Regions from separate parts of the Homo sapiens genome. Here all the other regions are linked to region 1. The links are contacts of gene promoters, found by promoter capture Hi-C in human tissues and cell types (Jung and others, 2019). All regions are on one chromosome and are shown on one strand. Each heading gives the region's core, a stretch centred on a gene start or on the middle of the fragment in contact. The rest is flanking DNA. Distances are from core to core; before and after follow the strand shown. Region 1 holds the start of PLAT (plasminogen activator, tissue type). Region 2 overlaps VDAC3 (voltage dependent anion channel 3). Region 3 overlaps POLB (DNA polymerase beta). Region 4 overlaps KAT6A-AS1 (KAT6A antisense RNA 1). Region 5 holds the start of POLB (DNA polymerase beta).

Region 1 (4,214 bases), core at 945-3,444:
TCCCTTGACTAAAATCAAGGCTCCCATTGTCACCTTATCAGCCTGCCCATGCCTAATTCTGCATTCTCAGGCTTCCCCAGAATCTGTCCGAGGGAAACCAATCTCAATTCAGAAGGAACACAGAGGCCCCAGTTTCTAGGGCTGCAGGATATTGCTGGGTCTTAATCATTCGGGTATATTTCAGCAAAGCTCAGGGCCCCTGCTAATGATCTGCAAACCCTCTCCTCTCAGTCTCCCGTTGTTTAGCCCCTATTTATAAGTGAGTGCATGTGGTTGTTCACTTTCTGTTTCTGAGTTATTTCAGTTAGGATAATGGTCTCCAGTTTCATCCATGTTGCTCCAAAAGACAGACTTCATTGTTTTTTACGGCTTTGTCGTATTCCTCGGTGTATATGTGCATTTTCTTTATCCAGTCCTCCATTGATGGACACTTAGGTTAATTCTGTGCCTTTGCTATTGTGAATTGTGCTGTTGTGAATTGTGTGTGATAAACGTGTGAGTGCAGGTGTCTTTTTGATGTAATGATTTCTTTTTCTTTGAATAGATACTCAGTAGTGGGATTGCCGGGTCAAATGGATGTTCTATTTTTAGTTTGGGAAATCTCCATATTGTTTTCCATAGAGGTTCAGGATCCAGGATTTAAGTGCAACCATTCAGTGGAAAACCATCCTCTCAAGAGTTCAAATGAGAGTCCTCATGACCAGCACTCCCTGCTGAACGGCAATGCCCCACCCCCCAAAAAAGCCTCCATCCTCACCATCTTAGACCACATTGCAGGAAAGCAGCCCCATGCCCACCAGACAGGCCCACAGCTGCTGCTGCTCATGGGAGGTCTACCTCCCGTGCTCAGCAGGCAACCCACCCCAGTGCCCCTTTTCTACAATGACCATCAGCAGGGCTGCAGCTTCATAAAAATGTGAAAAACAGTTTGAAAGCAATGTGAAAAGCAGTTAGGTGCCTTTCAACTTCAAACTCAGCACTCATGGTTTGACAAATATGAGTATATTTAGGATCAGAATGTATGAAATCTGGCCTCTCCTGAATAGTCGGTCATCCCACAATTTCCTCTGCCAAACTTCTCTTCCCTCCCTGCGTTCTTTCTTTCACCTCTCTCTCATTTTTACAAGGTCTGGTCTCAGCCAGACATGAACCAATGATGATAGATGCTCCTGCTGAGCCCTGTGATGTGCCAGGGCCCTGACATGCGTGGCTTCTCTCTGATCCTCACGTGACCTGCAGATGCAAAAGCCAGAGCTCAGCATAGTTGAAAATCTTGATTGAGGTCATATCCCAGTTACTGGCACAGCCGGATTTAAACCTAAGACTTTCCCCTACACGACAGGGCTTTTATTTCTCAGTCATCTGAAAAGGTGTCAGCAAGGGAAATGGCTTGTCTATTTCCAGGGGCATTTTACAAGCAAATACTGAAAGGCTTCGGTGGGCTTAAGGGCTGATGGCTTTGATCGAATTTCAGGCATGTTGGCCCCAAGGCCCTGTGTATATTCCCTGGGCCCACTCAAGGGGATGCTGGAGCCGGAAAGTCCCCGGAGGCCACCTACTGCAGCCCTGCACTTTACAAAGAAGAGAAAGATTCTCCCTAAAATTACAGAACAGGGCCAAAGATGCCTACCGGAGCAAACCCCCATGGGGGCACCTCCTACCGCAGGTGAGCCCAAGGCTGGTCCTGCCTTCTCAGTGGCTACCCCCCTGAGCTCCCGCCACCACACAAAGTGTTCCAATCCTTGTGCATCCTCCAGTCCTTTTAACCTCTCATGTCCTGAGAGGCCAGAGCTACAGCCACAGATTCCAGAAGACACCCCACTCCCAGCCCCAACCTGCTGCCTTTAGAATTATAAACACTTCTTGTCATCACAGGGTCCTGAAAGTCCCTTTTAAGCCTGGGACACTAGGACTCTAAAGGAAGATGATTCTTAAGGTCCCATCCCACTTCCAAATTCCTGCGATTCAATGACATCACGGCTGTGAATAATCAGCCTGGCCCGAAGCCAGGATGGGCTGTGCTGCTTCCACCGTGAACTTCCTCCCCCTGCTTTATAAAAACAGGCCTGCCTCAGCTCCCTCATGGCCCTGTCCACTGAGCATCCTCCCGCCACACAGAAACCCGCCCAGCCGGGGCCACCGACCCCACCCCCTGCCTGGAAACTTAAAGGAGGCCGGAGCTGTGGGGAGCTCAGAGCTGAGATCCTACAGGAGTCCAGGGCTGGAGAGAAAACCTCTGCGAGGAAAGGGAAGGAGCAAGCCGTGGTAGGTCGGGTTTCTGTACCTTGGGGTCTGTCTCCTCTTCTTTCTCTTAAAAGTCTTTCCAGCAAGCTGAGCCAGTGAAGGAATGCTTTAACCAAGGGACCAACTTTGTAATTCAGGCAACTAGAGGATCCGCTAGAATCCACTCCAGAGGGGAGATGTCTGTTTGCATTTGCATGTGATTGGGATAGGCTGGAGTGTTTTGGAGGGGAGAGGCAGTCGGGGAAAGGGAGACTAGGGAGGTTGCATTCATTGGAGAAGCCTCTGCTGACAGAGTAAAGGGGAAAGTGAAAAGAACGATACAGAAAAGCCCCAAATAGCCTATGGGAGTACCTCAAGACGAGCAAGCAATAAAAGCAAAATCGGCTGCCTTGGGACACGTGCCTGTGACAGCTGGGAGGGCCCGCTGGGTCCCCTAGTTTCCTCCCTCCCCCGATGAACCCCCAGAAAGGAACTGAGGCTGTGGATGGGGCAGAGGGGGACTTACTTCCAGAGCACTATTTGCTAGGTGCTGGGAGAGAGAAGCAGGTGGCTTTCACACCCCACATTACCCCGTGGGATAGAGAAATGCCTCTGATCTCCCTAGGTGCCACCCCTACAAGTCTCCACAGGTCAGTTTGGCCCTCTGGCTTTTTGCCCAGGGTGCATCAGTCAAGTGTGCAGTCCTCCTTAAAGGACATTTTAATTACAGGGGAAAAAACTGACATTAATGTCTTTTATTCCTAAAGCACTCTGCAGGAAGCATGTGGGGTTCTCCAGATTTTCACTGTTATTATCTTTATTTTCTTAACCTCACAGGGAGGGAGAGAGGAAGGGAGGGAGGGAAGACGAAAACACGCCGAGGTCCCAGGTAACTAATGACAACTCAAGCTCAAAGAAGTGTGGTAACAAGGATGTGTTTGGTGGCCAATTGGGAATAATATGGTGGTCTCCTGTAGCTGCTTGATGACAGAAAAAATGTCGTGTGTGTGTGTATGCGTGTGCATTGCAGTCCCGGGAAGGGGTCTTGCAAATACCATTGTCAGGTGGAGTCCCCTCAAAGGTGACTTCCTAGCAGTACTTGCTGTGGCAAGAACGCTCATTCTGGGATCTAGACTCAATCCATGACGGTCAGCATGAGCTGCTGGGTGCGTGCTTCCTGTGCAGGCAGAGTCGGACTCCAGCACTGGCAGGGACACTGTGAGTATTGAGATATGAATAGCTCCATCCTGCCCACCCATTTATTCCACCTAAAATGTTCTCAAAGATGCAAGCCTCCAAGCTCTGGATCAAATGATAAAGCCCCAGATCAAAATCTCAGGAGCAAATGAAAGCTGCCCTTGTCTCCAAAATGCTCCTTCTCTGCCCGACTCCCCAAGACCAGCTTGGTTTATTTCACAATGACTCGCGTCGGATTCTCCCAGTGTCTGCGGCTCCCCCTGCTTCATCACAGGCCTGGGACAGTCCAGGCAGCCAGGGAATAGCTGGGAATAGCAGTTCCCCTTTGTTGGTTTTTGAGTTCACTGAGGCTTTGATTTCCCCCAGGGCCTGACGTTGCTGAGCAGAGCCAGCGGCCAGTAGATTTCAAAGGATTCCAAAAAACAGTCAGGCACTCCTTTGTGAACCCAAAAGTATCTGAGACAGGTCTGTCAATTTAGAAAGTTTATTTTGCCAATGTTAAGAACACACATGTGACACGGCCTCTGGAGATCCTGAGGACATATGTCCAAGGTGGCCAAGGTATGGCTTGGTTTCATACATTTCAGGGAGACATGAGACATTAATCAATGTATGTAAGATGTGCACCGGTTCGGTCTGGAAAGGCAGGACAACTCGAAGTAGGGGCTTCCAGGTCATAGGTAGATAAGAGAAGGCTTCATTCTTCTGAGTCTTTGTCAGCCTTTCACTGAATACACAATTTACATATGAGAGGGGGGCAGAGGAAGAGTCACTTATGCCTTAGTTGGCTCAGT
Region 2 (4,214 bases), core at 1,106-3,605, 190 kb before region 1:
CAGAATTACCGGGATGTCCCAGGATGCTCAGATCAATTTGGTGGTGGTTGTTGGTGACCAAAACAGACCTGCTTCCAGATACTGTCAAGATGAGAGGGCAGCAGAGGAAGCAGTAACATCTCCAAAGGGTCATCTTACCATGAGGTAAGCCATGCTCTGGGCTCCCTCTATCCCAGTGGTTCTTCTACAGAGGCTGGAGCTTCCTCAAGTTTGGGGTGCAGGCTGAGGGGCCAGTGACCACCAGCAGCACAGCCTGCACACCACGTGCACCAGCCTCCTGGCAAGGTTTTGCTATGAGGATAGCACCGCAAGGATGGATATTCACCAAGGCATGCTAAATCTGAGTACCATCACTTCTCAGCATGCTAATGGCTACAATATTTTGGGCAACTGCACTGATACTAAGGAATAAATTATAAACACTCACACATGTGTGTGCAGCTGGAAGTCCGCAGCCTTGTAACCCAGGGCGAAATTATTCTGTGACAGTTTGGATTTGGCTGTGTCAAAACTCATCTGATAGCCAGCAAGCCACCCTTCGAAGGCCAACACAGCCCAGCCATAGATGGTTGGTCCAGAAAAATCTATATCAACATTACTGCCAACACTAAAACAATCCCGTTTATAGGAGGCCTTCAATTTCCCACTCTTCTTTCTGCAATAAACAAACAAACAAAAGCAAATGATGAAAACAACATGAGTTCTTACTACTGTCTAGGAATTTTTAGAGTAAGATCCTCTCTCTCATCTCCCAATGTAAATATTATTTTGGTACATGCCACATATATAGTAAAAACATTTCAAATGACCTAGTTCTACAAATATAATTTTGTTAGGATTAGACATGTATAGACTACTATCATCTATTACTCATTATAAGTTCAAATGATAGGATACTTCATGATTTATTTCATAAAAGCATGAACAAAAGTATAAGAATGAATAAGAGGCTGGGTGTGGTGGCTCACACCTGTAATCCCAGCACTTTGGGAGGCCAAGGTGGGCGGATGACGAGGCCAGGAGATTGAGACCATCCTGGCCAACATGGTGAAACCCCGTTTCTACTAAAAATACAAAAATTAGCTGGGCGTGGTGGCACACGCCTGTAGTCCCAGCTACTTGGGAGGCTGAGGCAGGAGAATCACTTGAACCTGGGAGGCAGAGGTTGCAGTGAGCCAAGATCATGCCACTGTACTCCAGCCTGGCGACAGAGCGAGACTCGTCTCAAAAGAAAAAAAAAGAATGAATAAGATATTTCAGTGCCAAATTAATAATCTGAAGGTGTATGTATACAGACGTACAAGAAGCCAAATCTCTTTAAATGTTTCCAAATGCCAAATGCCACAAAGAATTAATCCCCAATATACATTATTAACCTATCATGGAGAGAAGCATGCTTTTTTGAAGGACAATACTGAAAAAATGAAATTAGTTCTTAATAACCCTATTCCAATCAAGCCTCTTGTAGGAATATTTGTCCTGGCCGGGCACAGTGGCTCATGCCTGTAAGCCCAGCATTTTGGGAGGCCGAGCCAGGCGGAACACGAGGTCAAGACAGAGACCATCCTGCCCAACGTGGTAAAACTCCGTCTCTACTAAAAATACAAAAATTAGCTGGGCGTGGTGGTGCATGCCTGTAGTCCCAGCTATTTGGGAGGCTGAGGCAGGAGAATTGCTTGAACCCAGGAGGCAGAGTTTGCAGTGAGCTGAGATAGTGCCACTATACTCCAGCAAGACTCCATCTCAAAAAAAAAAAAAAAAAAAAAAAAGAAAAGAATATTTGTCCTAAAGATAACTGAAGTGTGTGGCAAAAAGAACACACCTGTTGTTACGGCTGAGACAAATGTCACTTTGCATTCATCTAGCAACCTCCGTCCTTCAGATAGCATGGACCCACATTAGGCAGATAGGAAATGACACAATCCCCCTTTTTTTCACGAGGAAATTGAGGTCAAGAAGTTGGGGGATTTACAGAGGCTAAGAAATCAAGTAGGCAGCAGAACTAATCATTATAGCATCTGAGAGCCAGATCACCTTCTTAAGAAATTAACTTTTCAGCACCATAAGAGAGGGTGAGGGGGAAAAAAAAGGAATTAACTTTTTTTTTTTTTTTTGAGACAGAGTCTCGCTCTGTTGCCCAGGCTGGAGTGCATCTCGGCTCACTGCAAGCTCCGCCTCCTGGGTTCATGCCATTCTCCTGCCTCAGCCTCCTGAGTAGCTGGGACTACAGGCGCCCACCACCATGCCTGGCTAATTTTTTGTATTTTTTAGTAGAGATGGGGTTTCACCGTGTTAGCCAGGATGGTTTCCATCTCCGGACCTCATGATCCGCCCATCTCGGCCTCCCAAAGTGCTAGGATTACAGGCGTGAGCCACCACGCCCAGCCAAAAGGAATTAACTTTCTCAGCAGAATACCATGTCCATCAATCTTCAGAATTGCTTAAGATTCATCTATGGTCTCAAGACTCTTCTAGCTCCTAAATTTTTTCTACCATGTGTCTCTCTCAAATACATTTATACATTTTTGCTCATCTATTCAGTTTTCAAATTGTTCATCCTGCCTTGGTGGGGAGGGATCTTCCTTTATCTGTATTACCTATACAAGGTCTCCAATATTCCTTATAGCAACCTTCTGAGTTCTTCCTGCCTCTGAACTTTGCACTATATCTCCTTATTCTAAAGCTCTCTACCCTTTCAGGCTCCAAAAACGTTTCAGGAAATGGGATTTGAATAATTACCCTGTGTTCGGTACAAATATGGTATCAAGAGTCAGTTTCAACCCTTCAGCCAACTGAAAAACAAAGATTTAAAATAAATAATTAGTAATTTTCAATCATTTATCCAACTCAAGAAACCAATTCTAAAGTTTCCTGAGTTCTTTAACAAAAAAAAGGAGTCATTCAAGAAAGCAAAATATTAAATTATGTAATAAGTAAGCTCTCCATCCTCCTGTCCCCTCACCCCAGCCTTCATCATGGTTCTCCCACTAAAAAATGGGGCAAATCCTATTTTAGCAAGTTACATAAAATACAGTTCAAAACCAAACAGAATTCCCATACAACAAAATCATCTTGATACTCTCTTGAAAGAGCAGTAATGAGATAACCTGACATTTAACAAGCAGGCTAAGTCATTTTACTCAGTTTTGCATGTACATTATCTATACATGGTATCTCTATCAAAAACAGTGCCCTGTACATAGTGGGCACTTGACTATATCTAATAGATTTTCTCCTTGAAAACATGAGAACATTTTAGAAAAATTTTTCTGTCAAGCCAATTTTTCAACAATTACAAAACTAAACCAAATTTCCGCAAATAGTTTGTTCTACCCAGGAGAAGCTTAGCTGTGTAACAGAGAACCAGTCAGAACAAAGATGTAATATAGTAATTAGAGTACTCACAAACAAAGCCTTATTTTCTAGAAACATAAGACATCAAAAAAGGCCACATGCAGAGAAAAAATATGGCTACTAGATAGGTTGTAAGATCTCTTTTGATTATATTTGGGGTATGTTCATCATTCAATCTACAAGATAAATTGAACCTATGAATAACTTCTAATGCGTTCTCTTACCTTATTCTCCCAAGAGATTTCTGTCCCTAGAGTATTGTCTGTGTTCCATTTCTGGGTGAAGGTAAGTCCATAGTTACAGACCTTATATTTGGTTTCTAGGTTGCCTGATGCTTTCCCTGTATCAGTGTAAGCATGACCAGAAGTAGAAAATTCCTGGTAAGCAAGAAAAAATAATTACTTTAAAATTAGCTCATCAAATAGAAAATATTCACTTTGGAAAGCAGTGTTCAATGTATCAAAAACAATACCATTTACTGCTTGCCACAGCCCTACTCTAGAGCAACTTCTTTCCTCCTTTCCCCTTGCTTTTCCAGTCCCTAAATATTTTAACCAGTTCTGCCAGGCGCAGTGGCTCATGCCTGTAATCCCAGCATGTTACGAGGCCAAGGCGGGTGGATCCCTTGAGTCCAGGAGCTCAAGACCAGCCTGCGCAACATGGCAAAACCCCATCTCTACAAAAAATACAAAAAATTAGCCAGGCATGATGGCACGTGACTGTAGTCCCAGCCTGAGCCCAGGAGGCAGAGGTTGCAGTGAGCCGAGATCATGCCACTTCACCCTAGCCTGGGCAACGGAGTGAGACAGCTCAATACCAGTTTCAGATCTTTCCATTACTCTACTTCTCTTATTAATATC
Region 3 (4,214 bases), core at 962-3,461, 160 kb before region 1:
ATGTGGTTTATAGCATAGAGCAGAATATGAGAAAATAAAAATTCCCATTAAAGATCTGCTATCATCTCATATTTCTCTCTACAAAACCCATAGTAAAGTATGATCATGAACACAATATGAAAATTTAAACTAAACATACTTGCTAAGAAAATAAGATCATCATCATCCAATAATAGTACATGAGGTTTTATTGACTACATTGCAAGCAAAAGCATGAAGAAGAAACAATCATTTAAAAACACCAAAGACCCTTACATAGCAAAGGTTAAGAAATAAATTAAGACTCCTATTGGGTTGTGTCTGCCAGGGAGGATACAGGCCTCATTCGCTCCGGTCCTTGGGTTCCCGGTATTTCCACTGGATGTAATCAAAGATGTCTTTTTCACTATCCACTGGCAGGGGTTCTCCTGCAACTCCTGCAAGTACAGAGAGAAAAACTTATTGTAAGAACCAGTTTTATAGTTTAGTTATAGAGGGTTCAAGATTAAGAGCTGTGTGGGACTTGCTTTCAGAAGAAAAAAGAAAATGGTAACCAAGTCACTAAAAAAAAAAAGACCGGCGGATGTGGTAGCTCACGCCTGTAATCCCAGCAATTTGGGAGGCCGAGGCAGGTAGATCACCTGAGGTCAGGAGTTTGAGACCAGCCTGACCAACATGGAGAAACCCCATCTCTACTAAAAATACAAAATTAGCCAGGCGTGGTAGCTCATGCCTGTAATCCCAGCTACTCGGGAGGTTGAGGCAGGAGAATCGCTTGAACCTGGGAGGCAGAGGTTGCAGTGAGCCGAGAATGTGCCATTGCACTCCAGCCTGGGCAACAAGAGCGAAACTCCATTTCAAAAAAAAAGACACTGACTACCTCTATCCTCTCCCAGGAGGCTGTGCTGGAGCTTCATCTCGTGAGTCATCAGTGCCACAAAGGGAACCTGGGGATCCCAGCTAGGGCCACTCAAGTCATCCTCACTCATGATTGTCCTTTCTGCTGGAGCCACTATGTATTATATACTCTAGTGAGTTCCTTTGCAACTCGGTTCTTGGACTAGCAGCACTGGCATTATCTAGAACAAGCTTATCCAACCATGGCCCGCCAGCTGCATGCGGCCCAGCTCCACTTTGAATGTGGCCCAACACAAATTCGTAAACTGTCTTAAAACACGATGAGATGTTTTTATGATTTTTTTCTTTAAAGCTCATCAGCTATCGTGAGTGTTAGTGTATTTTATGTGTAGCCCAAGACAATTATTCTTCTTCCAATGTGACCCAGGGAAGCTAAAAGATTGGTAACCTCTGATCTAGAAGCTTACTAGAAATGCAGAATCCTGAGCCCCACTGCAAGCCAAAGGAATTAGAATCTGAATTTAGTGAGGCCCCCATGTTGCTGGTATGCACACTGAATTGTGAGAAGCACTGCCCTAGTCTACCAGGGATGAGGTATTTTATACTTTGAGGACAAAGTATTTTATACTTTGAGGACAAAATGACAAAAATTCATTCTCCTAGTAGAGAACAGTAAACCACATAGTATACTGTGAAATGTTAACAGAACCCATTAAGCATAGATTCAGCAATCCTTATTCTTTAAACTTTAAAAGCATGGGGCCAAAGATACCATGGCACTAAAAGCAAAGTATGTGGCACTGAAAACAATGATACTTGAGTTTTTCAGGGGTCCTAGAGGTACATTAAACAACAGCAAAAAAAAAAAAAAAAAAAAAAAAACCCTTTTAGATGAATAAGATATTTTACTGAGCATGCAAGGATTTAATCCATTTTAACAAAGCTGGAACTAACGCTTGCCTTGATGGCCTTCAACTGAGGGCCTAGGAGCATGTTATGCATTAAATCCTCTCTCGTTGCCTGAAGGACTAAAAATACAAAGAAACTACACTAACTGGCATAGTTATTAGAAGGTTTGCTAAACCAAAGTATCTTTGAAAATAACCTTCTCTCCAGATGAGAGATGATCTCTAATACACACATGGACACTCACCAGTGACTCCCAAGGGACGGATGGTGTACTCATTGATTGTGAAACCCTTTTCTAGGGCATGAGCCCTCATATTCTTATTGAAAATATCACTCCCAGTGAAATAGAGAACACCACAGTAATACTGATCTTTGGGTATCAACCTAAAAAAAATGGACAGTAGATACATTTTTTTACCATGCATTTCAAGTTTAGCAAATATAGGACTCCTAAAATCAATAAGGAACAAAATACCAAAGATAAGCCTAAGTGGTCTAATAATTTGAAGAGAAGACTATCATGAGGTAGACTGCTCAAATCACCCCAACCTTGTAATTTGTTTAGGTTTCTGTGAACTTTGTTCTGAAAGAGATGTGGAGAAATGAAATTGCATTATCACCTATTACAACTAACTTAGCCCAGGCAGGAAATGACTTTTGAGCTGTGGAAGGCATCATGGTGAGGTGCAAATCTAGAGAAAATAAATTGGAGTCTGTAGACAGTCATTATTCTTTACATACTTTGGAGCTAAACATTGCATTTGGCAAGAACATATGGCTCTTGGGAGTAAAAAAAGGCTCTAGATATGAATGTGAACTCCAAGATACAAACAGGGAGGGAGAAAACGAGACAAGTTTGGAAAAGTTAACAGGTCAGCAACAAAGTCTGAACAATACCTGATATCAATTCTTCTGTGTGGATATTCTTTTTCATCATTTTTACTGGGAAGCTGGCAAACACCCTAAAATGAACATTTTAAACCAAGTTTAAAGATGTTCTAAACTTAAGGCTTAATTTTAATCAAGTAAAACACAAGGCCATTTTTGTTTTTAATGTTAGCAGCTCTAGAATTCTGAGCACTTTTAACTTAGCAGCTTCTGTGAGCAATACACTATCCCTACCTTTCTATTACACTTCACGATAATTAGAGAACTACACAAAACTGCAAATAAGGATTCTCATTATGAGGATTTGGTCTTTGTGTGATTCTAAGCAAGAAACTAATCAAAGAAAACCCTGAACACGAAACACAGACATCAAAATAAACAGAAGAGAGCAACGTGGAAGAAACGATGATTATGCAGGAAGAAGAAAACAAACAAAAAAGCTACCAGTATAGTCTCAAACAAAAAAGCTTCCAGTAATAACAGAAGATACTCTATCCATGAAGTAAGAACAGAATACTATAGAAAACCCTCAGGGAAAGGTTTAAATCAAAATTTAAAATGATAGGTAGCAGAAGTAAAAGAGTTTGAAATTGAAGAAATCTCTCAGACACTAGAAGGGAGAAAGACACGGAAAATAAGAAAAATATGAGATCAGAAAATGAGGGGATCACTTTCTTCCTTCACAGGTAATTTTTCATTATACTTCTACAATTTCCAAACAAAAGTTATCCAAGTCTGTTTTATCTTTTCCCTTTCCTGAAAAATGGACAAAAAATCTGGACTGGTCAGCAACCCATACATATGTAAAACAAGATATAAGCACCACCAAATTTCCAATTAAAAGTATCAAATGCTACATTCTAAGAAAAATACACAAGTGACAAGCTTCTGGTCCTCAAGAGTGGTCAAGTTAACACATGCCACTAAAAGCCATACTTTTTCACTCAGCAAAATAGAAAAATTAAAATCTAAACTAATTCTTTAGCTGTTCCTATGGAAGAAAGATTAATGAAATATGTTTACCTTCAAAATATGAAACCTACCTTCTTAGGCACTAACAAGTTCCAACTCAACTTCCACCTTCAAGTGGATCAGAAGTCATTTCCACCTGGAATTACCAGGAGGTATTACCTTGCGGATGCGGATGTCTAGATACCACAGGGAATGATGTTCCTGTTTGTCACATCAGTAATAGGATTTTATCTCATGGCTTTGTTCCTTTCCTCAAGGCTAATTTTATTTCCTGCACTTTTTCTGAAGTGCTAATATTAAAGAATTTCTCTGTTTTACTGTAAATTCTGTATTAGATTGAGTGGATTAGCTTTGTTTGGCATTTCATTTGGGTAGCTTCATACTGAGTGTCGGAAATAAAACCTCTTTCATTTCCTCGGGGTAGCCATGGTATCTCCTATTGTCCCTTGAATTCTTACTGCAGATATTTCACAGAAAATCACCCAAGGCCAAACTTGCACAAAATACTGAAATCTGAATGGCACTCACCGTATATAAAACCAATAGTTGAATGCAGAGGAAACTTTTTTTCTTCTGAGTGTTACTATATTCACAGGAATATAGTATAG
Region 4 (4,214 bases), core at 584-3,083, 140 kb after region 1:
GCCTCATAACCTCCTCCCCTCTGCAAGCTACTTGGGAGGCTGAGGCAGGAGAATGGCGTGAACCCAGGAGGTGGAGCTTGCAGTGAGTTGAGATCGCGCCACTGTACTCCAGCCTGGGCAACAGAGCAAGACTCTGTCTCAAAAAAAAAATAAAAAATTAAAATAAAGAAAACGTTATTTATAGATACAACAGAAATCACATGGCTTACAGAAGGATATAAACAACTTACTGAAAACTAAAATGAAATGGATACATTCTTAGAAAAATATGTTATCAAAACTGGTTACAGAAGATAGAAAACCGTAATAATCTTATGACCATTAAGAAACTGAATCAGGATGCAAACATTTTTCTATGAAGAAAATACTACATCTGGATGCTTTTATTGATGAATTTTCCCAAATGTTTAAAGAAAAAATAATTATGTTCTATAAAACGTTCTAGAGTATAGAAAAAGAAGGAACGCTCCTTTCTCATTTCATGAAGCAAGCATAACTTTGATACAAAACCAAGCAAGAGGCCGGGCGTGGTGGCTCATGCCTATAATCCCAGAACTTTGAGGGGCCAAGGCGGGAGGATCACCTGAGGTCAAGAGTTCAAGACCAGCCAACATGGTGAAACCCTGTCTCTACCAAAAATACAAAAATTAGCCAGGTGTGGTGAGGCGTGCCTGTAATCCCAACTACTAGGGAGCCTGAGGCAGGAGAATCGCTTGAACCCAGGAGGTTGCAGTGAGCCAAGATTGTGCCACTGCATTCCAGCCTGGGTGACAGAGCAAGACTCTGTCTCAAAACAAAAAACAAAACAACTCTTAGCAATGTGGAAATAGAAGGGAAGTTCTTCATCCTCATAAAGAGGATCCTCAAAATACCTATAGCAAACATCACCCTTAATTTGAAAGCATTCCTTCTAAGATTAGAAGCAAGATAAGGGTACCAATTATCATCGCACAAATGACAAAAAAGGGAAAGGATACCTTTATGTAAACGAATAATAGGAGCTTCCACTCGACAAAAGACACGCTTAAAAAGACTGAAAGGAAAAGCTTAAAACTAGGGGACATAATATGCAACATACATGAACTGACATGTATCAGTACCTTGAATATATGAAGAACTATGAAAAATATAAGCAATCCAATAGAAAAATAGACAAAAGACTTGAAGAAGAGCTTCCCAGAAAAGAAAACTCAAATGGCCAATAAACAAAGGTCAATCTCACTAGTAATCAAGGAAATGCAAATTAAAATACTACAAATAATAACAACTCTAATAAGAGTTAACACTTACATTGTGGTCTCTATATAACTTAGATTGGTTTAGTGCCACAACTATATGTAGTAACTTTAAAAATTCTCACAACAATCCTATGTCATAGTATGGTAGGTATTAGTGCTATTCACTAATAAACCTTGCATGAGAAAACATAAGAATCCTTAAAATCATGTAGTATAAATCCAGCAAACTTTGTCCTTTTTCAAAGTTTATGACAATCCTGTACTTTGTATTTCATAAGACTTTAGAATTTGCTTGTCAGTTTCTTTTCCTTTTTTTTTTTTTTGAGATGGAGTTTCACTCTTGTCACCCAGGCTGGAGTACAGTGGCATGATCTCAGTTCACTGCAACATCTGCCTTCTGGGTTCAGGCGATTCTCCTGCCTCAGCCTCCCCAGTAGCTGGGATAACAGGCGTGCACCACCACGCCCAGCTAACTTTTGTATTTTTAGTAGAGACAAGGTTTCACCATGTTGGCCAGGCTGATCTCGAACTCCTGACTGCAGGTATTCTGCCTGCCTTGGTCTCCCAAAGTGCTGGGATTACAGGCGTGAGCCACAACGCCCGGCCTGCTTGTCAGTTTCTATAAACAAAGCCTGCTGGGATTATGATTACAATTGAATCCATAGCTGAATTTGGGAATAATTGATATCTTAACACCATTGAGGTTTCCAACCACAAAACAAGGTGTATCTTTCCATTTTCTTAGTTCTTTTTTTTTTTTTTTGAGACAAAGTTTTGCTTTTGTTGCCCAGGCTGGAGTGCAGTGGGGTGATCTCTGCTCACTGCAACCTCTGCCTCCCAGGTTCAAGTGATTCTCCTGCCTCAGCCTCCCGAGTAGCTGGGATTACAGGTGCCCGCCACCAGGTCCAGCTAATTTTTTTTTTTTTGTATTTTTAGTAGAGACAGGGTTTCACTATGCTGGTTGAACTCCTGACCTCAGGTGATCCACCCGCCTCGGCCTCCCAAAGTGCTGGGATTACAGGCGTGAGCCACTACGCCCGGCCCCATTTTCTTAGTTCTTAGCTCTTGGCAATATTTTGCAGCATTCAATGAACAGATCTCGCACTTATTTTGTCAGATTTATCCCCAAAGCTTTCATACTTTTAAGCAACTGTACAAAGCTAGTTTTTTTTTAATCGCCAATTGTTTGTTGTTAGTATACAGAAATACACTTTATTTTTTTAAAAAAATTCTGGTAAAATACACAAAACATAAAATTTACCATCTTAACAATTTCTAGGTGTTCACTTGATGGGTGTTAAAAATACATTGATATTGTACAACCATCACCACTATTCATCTCCAGAACTCTTTTCATCTTGTAAAACCAAATATCTGTACCTATTCAATAATAACTCCTCATTTTTCTTTTCCTCCAGGACCTGGCAACTACTATACAACTTTCCGTTTCTGTAAATTTGACTACTTTATGTAAGGGAAATCATACAATATTTATATTTTTGTGACTGGCCTATTTCGCTTGACACAATGTCCTCAAGTTTCATCAATGTTGTAGCGTATGTCAGAATTTCCTTCCCTTTTTAAGGCCAAATAATATTCCACTGTATGTATATACCACATTTTGTTTATCCATTCATCTGTTGATGAACATTTGAGTTGCTGCCACTTCTTGGCTACTGTGAATACTGCTACTCTGAACATGGGTATACAAACATCTCTTCAAGATTCTGTTTTCAATTTTTTTTTTTTTGAGACGGAGTCTCACTCTTTGTTGCCCAGGCTGGAGTGTAGTGGTGCAATCTCGGCTCACTGTAACCTCTGCCCTCCAGGTTCAAGAAATTCTCCTGCCTCAGGCTCCCAAGTAGCTGGCATTACAGGCTTGCGCCACCACGCCCAGCTAATTTTTGCATTTTTAGTAGAGACAGGGTTTCGCCATGTTGGCCAGGCTGGTCTCCAACTCCTGACCTCAGGTGATCCGCCCGCTTTGGCCTCCCAAAGTCTGGGATTATAGGTGTGAGCCACCGCGCCTGGCCTGTTTTCAATTCTTTTGTATATATATCCAGAAGTGAGATTGCTAGATCTTATGGTAATTCTATTTTTCACTTTTGAGGAAGCTTTATACTGTTTTCCACAGTGGCTGCACCATTTTATATTCTTAACAACACTACACAAGGACTCCAATTTTTCCACATGCTTACCAACACTTCTTGTTTTTTTTTTTTTTGAGACAGAGTCTTGCTCTGTCACCCAAGCTGGAGTGCAGTGGCATGATCTCGGCTCACTACAAGCTCCGCTGCCCGGGTTCATGCCATTCTCCTGCCTCAGCCTCCCGAGCAGCTGGGACCACAGGCGCCCACCACCACTCCTGGCTAATTTTTTTGTATCTTTAGTAGAGATGGGGTTTCACCGTGTTAGCCAGGATGGTCTCGATCTCCTGACCTCATGATCCACCCGCCTCGGCCTCCCAAAGTGCTGGGATTACAGGCGTGAGCCACCGCGTCCAGCCCACTTCTTGTTTTTTGTTTGTTTGTTTGTTTGTTTTGAGACGGAGTCTCACTCTGTTGCCAGGCTGGAGGCTGGAGTGCAGTGGTGTGACCTCGGCACACTGCAATCTCCACCTCCTGGGTTCAAGCGATTCCCCAGCCTCAGACTCCCAAGTAGCTGGGACTACAGGTGTGCACCACCACGCCCAACTAGTTTTTTCTCTTAGTAGAGACGGGGTTTCATCATGTTGGCCAGGATGGTCTCGATCTCCTGACCTCGTGATCCGCCCGCCTCCGGCTCCCAAAGTGCTGGGATTACAGGCATGAGCCACGATGCCTGGCCGTATATTGATCTTATATCCTGCAACCTTGATAAACCTATTAATTCTAGCAGTTGTTTGTAGGATATTTTAGATATTCGATCATGTCATCTGTGAACAAAGATAGCTTTCTTTCTTTCCAATTTGGATGCCTTTTTATTTTCTTTCCTTAC
Region 5 (4,214 bases), core at 952-3,451, 130 kb before region 1:
CCAGTGATACACAGATTTGGAGTCACTGACATAAGTGGCATTTCAAAGTCAAGAATGGCAAGATTGCCAGGGAAACTACAGAAGTAAGAAAAGAGGGCTAAGGGCAGGCAGACTCCCCGGAACCACAGGTTAACTATCCCTTATCTGAAATGCCTGGGACCAGCATTGTTTCAGATTTTGAATTTTTTTCAGGGTTTGGAATATTTGCGTATACATAATAAGATATCTTAGGGATATGGGAGATACAAGTCTAAATACAAAATTCAGTCATATTTCTCACACACCTTACGCACATACCCTGAAGGTAATCTTATATAGTCGTTTTAATAATTTTGTGCATGAAACAAAGTTTTGACCATTTTGACTGCCACCTACTACATGAGATCGGATGTGGAATTTTCCACTTGTGTCATCATGTCGGCAATCATCCAGATTTTAGAGCATTTCAAATTTTCAGATTAGGGATGCTCAACCTATACCAACATTAAAAGGTAAGACAGAAGAAGAGATGAAAGACCAGAAAGAGTGCCATTACAGAAGTCAAGAGATATTCACAGCATGAGCCAGGGGTGAATGCCACAGAGAGTCCAATAAGATGAGACGTAGGTGAGCGGATTTTCAGAGCACTGGTAGGTCCAGGCAAGGACTGGGACTTCTTGAGTAAATGATTAGGTATTAAGAAGTCCAGGCAAGGAATGAAGATTTTTCAAGAAGATTCACCATAAAGTGAGAAAAGAGGGAAGGTGCTAGCTAGAGGGAAGTTAAGATTGTTTTGGTTTTGCTTTTAAGAGCTGAGGGACTTGCACATATTTATAGGCTAAGGAGAGCTGACACCGAGGCTGATGCCTGGAATCCCAGCACTCTGGGAGACCAAGGTGTGTGGACCATTTGAGTTTAGGAGTTGGAGATCAGCCTGGGCAACATAGCAAAACCCGGTCTCTACAAAAAAAAAAAGAAAAAAAAAGAAAGAAAAAAAAATTAGCTGGGTGTGGTGGCGTGCGCCTGTAGTAGTCCCAGCCACTCAGGAGGCTGAGATGGGAAGATCACTTGAGGCTGGAAGGTTGAAGCTGCAATGAGCCATGATCATACCACAGCGAGACCCCGTCTCAAATAAAAATAAATAAATAAATAAATATAGGCTAAGGAGTAGAAGCAGGTGGATGTGGAAAGAATGAATAGGATAAGGCCCCTGGTGAGATGAACAAGGACAGGATCCCATGAACAAGGAACAAGGATCAGGATCAGGATCCCACAGGATCAACTTTAGACCAACCAAAAGAAAAAATGTGATTCCTTGAACCACATATATTTCACAGTATGGACTTCATCCGCTGTCTTTCATTACGGTTAAAATTACACCGCATTTCTAGTAATTCATGTTTGATGATGACAAAATACGTATCAGGCTACAGCTATCTGCAATCAGAATTGGGAACTTATCTGAACTGATCCTATAACGCACTGCCCACATTCTTCAAGAAATAGTAAGGTACCAGCCTCGATTCTTGCTTTTTCCCGCTCTTGCAGATGGACCAAATATCCACTGGGCCCTCAGTCCTGTTAATTGCCACACTAAACAGGGTATCCCAGAACGTATGCTACCCGAGAATGCTGCACTGTCCCACCTGTAAGCATTGTACTTGTGGATAGCTTGGCTCACGTTCTTCTCAAAGTTTGCGAGTTCTGAAAGGCAACAGAAGGCTCGGGTGAACAAGAACCACGAGTAAACAAACGAGAACTGTTTTCTGGAAGGGGATATGGCAGCCTCTAAGAGACAGTGACCACCCGTTTCCTCCAAGGGCCAGACCAAAAGCAGCCCAAGCGATGGCCCAGGTGTAGCCGGCAGGACTGACAACCAGCCAGGGGCGCCGGAGGGAGATCCCCACGGAAGACGACCCGCTGCAAGGAACCTACCCTACCCACTGGACTGTCGGTGTGGGAGAGAAGGAAGGCAGGGGAAGAGGCTGGAAGGAAAGAAGAAAGCCAGCGGGGCCCGGCCCGGTGCTAACCTGTGAGCATGTCGGTGATTCCCCCGTTGAGAGTCTCCTGCGGCGCCTTCCGTTTGCTCATGGCGGCCTGCACCCGAGAACCCCAGAGTGTTCAGAACCAGGGACTAGAGCCCTCTCCCAGCTTGAAGGAGGTACCAGGACTTGGAGACGGGAGCAGGAGCAACCCAGCTCCGGCGCGACCGGCGGAACAATGGTTGCCCCCGATGGGGGGCGGGGCGCACGGCGCTTGTTGTGACGTCACGCGTCCTGGGCGGGGCGGGGCGGGGCTAGAGGGGCGAGCCCTCGGCAGGTGAGGAGAGAGAACTCGGAGGGTTCGTGGACTCGTGGACGTGGACACGGCGCGGGGGAAATAGGCACCTCAGAATGACAGCCCAGGGGCCTTCCTATGGGAAGACCTGGAGTTTTGACCTAAGATATTAAATCTGTTTTCTCAGTGTTTATCTGGAATCCTTTCCCTAGAAGGGGAAACGGGAGTGCGATCTTGATTCTGAAATACTTGCGCTGGTGGGGTAGCTTCCTGCACAAAAATGTGCACTGTAATAGCTACCCAATGCATGGCGCGTTTTGTACGTGGTTAGAGGCGACACTGGCGTCACACTGTCAAAACTTTCTCTAAGGATACCGGGCAGTCCACACTCCAGTGCAGCCCCTTACGTACTAGGGCGCTGCCGGAGCCCGGCGTGAACCATGCCGAGAACAGGAATCCTCCCGCACACGTGTTAGTACACCTGCCAACCAGTGTCAAAAGATATTTTATTTTTAATCCCCCTGCCTTTGCGGTAGGGACCAAATTAATGAAGAGACCACAAGAAAGGGAGAAGTGTTTCATCTAGATCATGAGCAATGGAACCCTAATTATAACATGATGACCTACATCTGAGAAATTTACAGTCTGCTTGAGAAATGGAAATGTCACATCAGCAATAGTTTATTTTACAAGCGTAACTCCTGGGTTCATATCGAACTGCAATTCCAGGCAATTGCTTTGTGCATCGAAAAATTAAAATTTATTACAAAATGATACGTAGTTGCTGTAGAGAAATCTGGAAAAATGTATAAAAGGAGAAAATTAAAATCAGTGATCTCACCCTACAGCTGAACTATTAATATTTTGGGACGTACACTTCTAGTCTTCTAACCCAGTCTATTAAAAATTCCCATTATTTTCCAATAAATATCATTAGTTTCTTTGATTAGCAAGGTTGTGGTGATTGTGTTTCCTTACAATATCAGTGTATATCTTAAGTTATGCTTATTGGAAATCTGTAATTCTTCTTTTTTTGAATTTCCTATTCATATCATTTACCATTTTCCTAATGGGGGTAGTTTGTTACTAATCTGGTAGATCTTTTCTATATATTACTACTTGCCCTTTTATGGATAGCTTTTGTAAAAATTTTGTACATATTTGTATTTTCCTCAATTTATTACTTGAGGAATAAAAGTTAAAAAAACTTTATGCCTGCAACTTAACTATCTGATTAGTTAAGCTGCAGTGAGCAGTGACCACTCTCATTTACTCTTTATACTCTCATTTACATATATGACTTGTCCTAGTTTTCCCTGTTCACACTTTTTTCTGTCCAATCTCTATTCCAGGTGATATTCAGATTATTTTGCTCTGAAGAATTATTCCTCCTTAAATAAAAATGTATTTACCTCTGAATTTTAAAAGTTACAAATGTAGGGAATTGTGGGATCAGTTTTACAAATTTTTTTGTTTTGAGACAGAGTTTCACTCTTGTCCCGCAGGCCAGAGTGCAATGGCACGATCTCGGCTCACTGCAACCTCTGCCTCCCGGGTTCAAGTGATTCTCCTGCCTCAGCCTCCCGAGTAGCTGGGATTACAGGATCCTGCCACCATGCCCAGCTAATTTTTGTATTTTTAGTAGAGATGGGGTTTCACCATGTTGGCCAGGCTGGTCTCAAACCCCTGACCTCAAGTGATCCACCCGCCTTGGCCTATTAAAGTGCTAGATTACAGGCGTGAGCCACTGCACCTAGCCCATTTTTACAAATACTATATTTTTAAAATTAGTGCCAGAGAAACCAAGGAAAATAATCCATTATCTGTCCTTATCGTCTTAGAACAACCGACATTTGATCTGCTTCACAAAGTTCTTCTTGAAATAACTTGCTTCAATTGGCTTCTAAGATTCCACATGCTCTGGGCTTCCTTTTTCCTCACTGGCCAGTCCTCAGCAG

Evidence for each region. Contacts are between HindIII fragments. The study calls those that stand out against the background at their distance.
Region 2: a fragment that was not itself captured here is called in contact with the fragment with the promoter of PLAT in region 1 in 1 of the 25 tissues and cell types used here (lymphoblastoid cells).
Region 3: a fragment that was not itself captured here is called in contact with the fragment with the promoter of PLAT in region 1 in 11 of the 25 tissues and cell types used here (H1 embryonic stem cells, IMR-90 fibroblasts, dorsolateral prefrontal cortex and 8 more).
Region 4: a contact is called between a fragment that was not itself captured here and the fragment with the promoter of PLAT in region 1, in 3 of the 25 tissues and cell types used here (H1 embryonic stem cells, bladder and heart right ventricle).
Region 5: the fragment with the promoter of POLB here is called in contact with the fragment with the promoter of PLAT in region 1 in 14 of the 25 tissues and cell types used here (H1 embryonic stem cells, IMR-90 fibroblasts, adrenal gland and 11 more).

Annotation. Positions count from the first base shown.
Region 1 is chr8:42,205,545-42,209,758 of GRCh38, reverse strand. It overlaps PLAT (plasminogen activator, tissue type), which reads left to right and starts at 2,194. Exons shown (of 14, transcript NM_000930.5): 1 at 2,194-2,265. RefSeq lists enhancers at 656-1,174, 1,175-1,693. The HindIII fragment of the contact is 37,434 bases long and covers 1-4,214 here.
Region 2 is chr8:42,398,229-42,402,442 of GRCh38, reverse strand. VDAC3 (voltage dependent anion channel 3) reads right to left here. Exons shown (of 10, transcript NM_005662.7): 5 at 3,579-3,731; 6 at 2,740-2,792; 7 at 428-655. Among named protein-coding and RNA genes, the nearest start is that of VDAC3, 8.5 kb to the right of the region's middle. RefSeq lists a silencer at 1,043-1,262. The HindIII fragment of the contact is 4,382 bases long and covers 165-4,214 here.
Region 3 is chr8:42,367,765-42,371,978 of GRCh38, reverse strand. POLB (DNA polymerase beta) reads right to left here. Exons shown (of 14, transcript NM_002690.3): 12 at 2,644-2,708; 13 at 1,991-2,130; 14 at 171-416. The coding sequence ends at 322. Among named protein-coding and RNA genes, the nearest start is that of DKK4, 7.4 kb to the left of the region's middle. The HindIII fragment of the contact is 3,911 bases long and covers 256-4,166 here.
Region 4 is chr8:42,061,752-42,065,965 of GRCh38, reverse strand. The region is part of intron 1 of KAT6A-AS1 (KAT6A antisense RNA 1); the gene reads right to left. Among named protein-coding and RNA genes, the nearest start is that of KAT6A, 12 kb to the right of the region's middle. The HindIII fragment of the contact is 4,701 bases long and covers 1-4,183 here.
Region 5 is chr8:42,336,481-42,340,694 of GRCh38, reverse strand. POLB (DNA polymerase beta) reads right to left here and starts at 2,201. Exons shown (of 14, transcript NM_002690.3): 1 at 2,010-2,201; 2 at 1,626-1,683. The coding sequence starts at 2,070. The HindIII fragment of the contact is 25,945 bases long and covers 1-4,214 here.